Linked DNA regions of Homo sapiens: region 2 is linked to region 1. The links are contacts of gene promoters, found by promoter capture Hi-C in human tissues and cell types (Jung and others, 2019). All regions are on one chromosome and are shown on one strand. Each heading gives the region's core, a stretch centred on a gene start or on the middle of the fragment in contact. The rest is flanking DNA. Distances are from core to core; before and after follow the strand shown. Region 1 holds the start of ZNF600 (zinc finger protein 600). Region 2 overlaps ZNF160 (zinc finger protein 160).

Region 1 (3,026 bases), core at 89-2,588:
GCATGGTCCTGGGAAGGGCTCACACCAGAGATGGATGGAGATGGGGTGTGGACCCCAAGGTGTCAGTGATATTGGGCAGCAGGGATTGTTCAGGGGCCACATCTGGATGCACATTTAGCTCTTTGTGGATCAGATCAGAGAATCTATGTATGAAAGTCATACATTAATGTATGCACTGGTATCTGTGTACTGGTATCTGGTAAATTCTGGAAAAGGAGACAAACTAGGGGAGATATTTCTTTTTCTTTTTCTTTTTCTTTTTTTTTTTTGAGACGTAGCCTCGCTCTGTCGCCCAGGCTGGAGTGCAGTGGCACGATCTTGGCTCACTGCACGCTCCGCCTCCCGGGTTCACTCCATTCTCCTGTCTCAGCCTCCCTAGTAGCTGGGATTACAGGCACCCACCACCACGCTTGGCTAATTTTTTTGTATTTTTTAGTAGAGATGGGGTTTCACTGTGTTAGCCAGGATGGTCTCGATCTCCTGACCTCATGATCTGCCCGCCTCAGCCTCCCAAAGTGCTGAGATTACAGGTGTGAGCCAGCGCGCCCGGTCTTGTTTTTGTTTGGGTTAGGCGGGCTCCTGTAGTTCCAGTTACTCGAAAGGCTGAGGCAGGAGAAGGGCGTGAACCCGGGAGGCGGAGCTTGCAGTGAGCCAAAATCGTGCCACTGCACTCCAGCCTGGGCGACACAGCGAGACTCCGTCTCAAAAAAAAAAAAAAAAAAAAAAAGTAAAAGAGCGAGAGAGAGATCAGGAAGAGGACCCTGCAGTTAGGGGGTGTTACTTTGTCGCCCAGGATGGCCTGGACCCCCAGGTTCAGGGATTCTCCCGCCGCTGCTTCCTGAGTAGCTGGGACCTCAGGCTTCCGCCTCGTGCCCGCATCCCTGCTGTGTTTAGGCAGCAGGTGGTGACCTCACTCCTCCCTGGCCTGAGCTCTCCGTCCCGCATCCCAGGCGGAGGCCCTAGGGAACACTTTGAAGCTGAGCACGGGGTGGACCCTCCCTCCTGAGTGAATGGAGAATAGAAAGGGAGAGGATTTCTGTTCTGTTCTGTGGGCCATCAGCATGAAATCGTATGTTCCGCCCTGGCAGGGCTTTGCATTTCACATTCTAGTTTGCATTCCCGTTCCAGATAATTCCAGGGCTTTTGAATCATGCCTCAGCCTTCCTGGCCGCTGTCGCCTCCAAAAACTCGAAAAACAGAGGCGCTGAGTGCGAGGCTGAGAAGCACAGGTCCCGCCCCGGGCCCTCCCTCTGCCGGTTCTAAAGGGCAAGGTCTCTCCGCCTGGGGCCCCGCCTCTACCCCGCCCAGGTCCAGCCAACCTGCCCCGGCCTGGCTTCAGTCCTGGGCGCGCACAAACCCGGAAGCGGATCGCGTGGAGTGAAGGTCCTACCACGGCGCGTGAGTTTTGCTCTGCCTTGGATTAAGTCTGCACTTCCCAGGTCCCCGGCGCTTCTGCCCCTGGGACGTGGGATCCCCACGGACCTGGAAATTCTCGCCTGTCTTCCCTTCACCCAGAGCAAATTGAGACGTCCCGGTAAGAGTCTGGAAGTTGCTTGCTTTTGGGTTTGAAGTCGCTCGGAGGCTGGTCCCGTCCCCGGTCTTTCTGCTATAGGGCAATGTATACACTTCCTATCGCGTATTTTTCCTGCTCAAAACATTTTTCTGACTATTCCCGCCCCGTGCTTTTTAAAGTCCTCACCCGCGAGGTGGATTCCAGCCCTGGGCGCCTCCCAGCCTCGCCCCAGTTGGCACCTGGAGCGCGGCGCCCCGGCCCCAGCCCCGGGGAGGCTGCGTCCTCTGCCTGGTCCTGGGATCCTGCAGGTCCCACCTTTGTCTTAGGGTGCCGTCGCCCACCACGTCCCTCCTGGTGCCGGGCCCTGCTGCTCCCCAAGTCTTCGCTTCCCCTGAGCCAGGGTTGGGGTGGGTCGCAGGGGCTTGTCCTATGATACCAGGTGTTCTTTCCTGTCCAGCTCCACCCCCTGGAAAATGCGCTTCTACGGGATGCAGGCGTCTTACTCCAAACCCGCCTGTGATTACTCCAAACCCGCCTGGGCCAAAGGGATCAGGAGATAGAGAGAGGGACTGAGAGAGCAGTAGAAAACCAGAGACAGAGAAAAGAAGAATGAGAAAGGCCCATAACAGATGGCAAAGTAGAGGATGGGTTAGGAATTTGCCAAGAGACAGCAAAAGTGAAAGAAAAAAAACTAAGAAAGCAGGAGGAGAAAAGCAACTGGAGAAATGTAGAGAAAAGCTAGATGTACAGAAAGATGAAGGACAGCAAGGTAGGGAGAGGGGCAGCAAAGAGGGAGGCTCACCAGAGTGAGGGAGAGGAGGAGGGATTTGGAGCCAGGGCAGACAGAGCAGAGTGGTGCTGGTGGCAAGAACAGATGGAGAACCACAGCAGGGAGGACACCTGGGGATCTGAGGTGCTGGAGAGTGGGGACAGAGGGGTATAACAGGGAAGAGAGAATTTAATAGGGAGAGCAGAGGAGACGGAGAGATAAGAGAAGAGGCTGTAATATATAGACATTGAGGAAGATTGAAAGATTGGGGAGAAAGAACAACAAGAGGTTAAATAAGGACCGGGCGCTGTGGGTCATGCCTGTAATCCCAGCATTTTGGGAGGCTGAGGCGGGTGGATCACCTGAGGTCCGGAGTTCGAGACCAGCCTGATCAACAGGGAGAAACCCCGTCTCTATTAAAAATATAAAATTAGCTGGGAGCGGTTGCACATGCCTGTAATCCCAGCTACTAGGGAGGCTGAGGCAGGAGAAACCTTTGAACCTGGGAGGCAGAGGTTGCGGTGAGAGCCAAGATCGCACCGGTGCACTCCAGCCTGCACAACAAGAGTGAAACTCCATCTCAAAAAGGAAAAAAAAAAAAGAGGTTAAATAAGCTGTGAGAATGGAGCAGAAGAGGTGGAAGAGAAGTAATAGAGGGAAGAAGGGGATAAACAGCAGGAGAGGAGAGGGGTACAAAATGAGGAGCACAATCCCAGGGAAAAAGAAAAGAAAACAAGAGCTAGA
Region 2 (2,700 bases), core at 1-2,500, 290 kb before region 1:
ACCCCCTCCTTGAAATTGATTAGTTTGCTTGAGTGGCTCACATAACACAGGGAAACACTTATATTTACCCATTTATTATAGAAGATGCTACAAAGCACACAGATGAACATCTAGATGGAAGTGATCTATTAGTTGAGATATGGGAAAGGAGTGAGGAGCTGGGATGTATTCTCTCATGTATTCTGTCTTTTTTGAGTTTTCATGGAGGCCCCATTATGGAGGCCTTGCTTCCATTATTGGCATTGGTGATCAACTGAACTTTCATTCCCTCTGTCCTCCCGAGAGGACAGAGGCTTAGTCTAACCGAGCCTCAGCCTTTCCAGTGACCACCCACCGAGCCTTAGTTCCGGTGACCGCCCTCCATCCTGAAGCTACCTAGGTGCTCCAGACACCAATTATCCCATTAATGTACAAAAAGATACTTATCACTCCACTGATTTCAAGTGAGCTCTTATGTCAGGAGAGGGGGATGAAGACCAAATCTGTATGTCACATTGTCACAATCTGGATCTGTCAGCTCACCCACTTCAATTTAACCTATTCTCACATTTTTCTCCTCTTCTCCTTTTATGTGAAATTTTGAACTCTCCCCTTAGCCACTTGGTGAAATGTGTTTTTCATTTTAGGTACGGTTGACATTTAGGGATGTGGCCATAGAATTCTCTCAGGAGGAGTGGAAATGCCTGGACCCTGCTCAGAGGATCTTATACAGGGACGTGATGTTGGAGAACTACTGGAACCTTGTTTCTCTGGGTGAGGATGACTTTCTTCCAGAAGTCAAGATCTGTTCTTGTCTATTGTTGCATTTTCCCTTACGAGTCCCTGGAGAGCCCCTGCATTGCTTGACTGAGATTGAAGTCCTGTTGACTCTGAAATGGAAAGCTTAATCATGGGAAACCTGGACTTTAATCTTCCCCTTTCTCAGATGTTCTGCCTCCTTTGTACTTCATCATTTGAGGTTTCAGAGCTTTTGTATGCATAATACATTGTGTTAGACTTTTGAAATGTCAGATTTCCTGTTTTCTACCTCTCTGCTTTGGATTAAGTTGTTGGTGGAATAGAGCCTTCTATCAGCATGTACCATGTTTCCTGGGTATTCAGAAGGAGGCATTCAGTGGATGATTTTTTTTTTTTTTTTTTGAGGCGGAGTCTCGCTCTGTCGCCCGGGCTGGAGTGCAGTGGCGTGATCTAGGCTCCCTGCAAGCTCTGCCTCCCAGGTTCATGCCATTCTCCTGCCTTAGCCTCCCGAGTAGCTGGGACCACAGGCGCCCGCCACCACACCTGGATAATTTTTTTTTATGTTTTTAGTAGAGACAGGGTTTCACCATGTTAGCCATCATGATCTCCATCTCCTGACCTTGTGATCCACCCACCTCAGCTTCCCAAAATGCTGGGATTACAGGCATGAGCCACCGCGCCTGGCCCAGTGGATGAATTTTTGAAGTTTTCTTAGATCCACATATAATGTCCTCTCATGTAAACATAGGGCTGGGATTCTGGAAAAGCCCCGGCACATTGTGATCCTTTCTTTTTATAAACAGGACTGTGTCATTTTGATATGAATATTATCTCCATGTTGGAGGAAGGGAAAGAGCCCTGGACTGTGAAGAGCTGTGTGAAAATAGCAAGAAAACCAAGAACGCCGGAATGTGTCAAAGGCGTGGTCACAGGTAAGAGCTCAGATGGGCAGAGAGAAGGCCACTCATTAACTAGAGTGTGGGAGGGGGCACAGTAGCTCACGCCTGTAATCTCAACACTTAGGGAGGCCAAGGTGGGCAGATCACTTGAGGTCAGGAGTTCGAGACCAGCCTGACCAACATTGTGAAACCCTATCTCTACTAAAAATACAAAAAAAAATTAGCCGGGCATGGTGGCGTGTGCCTGTAGTCCCAGCTACTCAGGAGGCTGAGGCAAGAGAATTGCTTGAACCCGGGAGGTGGAGGTTGCAGTGAGCCAAGATCATGCCACTGCACTCCAGCCTGGGTGGACAGAACAAAACTCCGTCTCAAAATAAATAAATAAATAAAGTGGGAAACTCTCTGCAGATGAGAGAGTTCTTTGGGAAAATAAGTTGCCTTAGAGATAGAGGCAAAGTCTTTATCATGATGGACAACACCCTGTCATTTGAACTCTATGGTTCCTTCTGAAGAAACTGCTTTCTTTCTTGGTCTCTCCCTCTGTATTTAATTCCATATGGTGCTCAGTTCTTAGTCCATATGGGTCAGAGGGGAAGCCTCCATAGTCCTTAGTCCTGACGTCTAGACCTGTTTATGTTCCACCCCATTTCCTGTGCGTGGAAGACCTGCTCAGGAGATGGAAACATTGGCTGCTGCTCCTTGGCATCTGCTGCCCCAAACCTCATGGAAGAGTCTCCAGCCGTCTCCGCCTGTCGAGGTCCCTCGGCCATTTCTTCCATTCTGCTTTTGCCACTTTCATGGGGGTGTGTGATAAGCGAGTGGGTTCTATCTTCTAAGATTGTTCTCAGCATAACCGTAAAGACACCTAACAAAATCCTTCTGTCATTGATCCTCAGTCTTACATGGGGTGCGTATTCTGTTTTTCCAGGCTTCAGCACAGAAATACAAGTACTGCATGTTGTCACTTACATTTGGAATCTAAACCAATAAAACTAATAGCAGCAAAGAGTAGAATGTGGGTTACCACAGGTTGGGGACTGGAGGGAATAGGGAGATGTTGGTC

Evidence for each region. The method cuts DNA at HindIII sites, captures the fragments that hold promoters and counts their contacts. A contact is called where the count stands out against the background at its distance.
Region 2: a fragment that was not itself captured here is called in contact with the fragment with the promoter of ZNF600 in region 1 in 2 of the 25 tissues and cell types used here (small bowel and spleen).

The regions. Positions count from the first base shown.
Region 1 is chr19:52,785,103-52,788,128 of GRCh38, reverse strand. ZNF600 (zinc finger protein 600) reads left to right here and starts at 1,338. Exons shown (of 6, transcript NM_001321866.4): 1 at 1,338-1,534. RefSeq lists a silencer at 1,180-1,329 and enhancers at 662-1,519, 1,520-2,378. The HindIII fragment of the contact is 28,786 bases long and covers 1-3,026 here.
Region 2 is chr19:53,073,110-53,075,809 of GRCh38, reverse strand. It overlaps ZNF160 (zinc finger protein 160), which reads left to right. Exons shown (of 6, transcript NM_001322131.2): 4 at 627-753; 5 at 1,542-1,670. Among named protein-coding and RNA genes, the nearest start is that of ZNF160, 29 kb to the left of the region's middle. The HindIII fragment of the contact is 9,128 bases long and covers 1-2,700 here.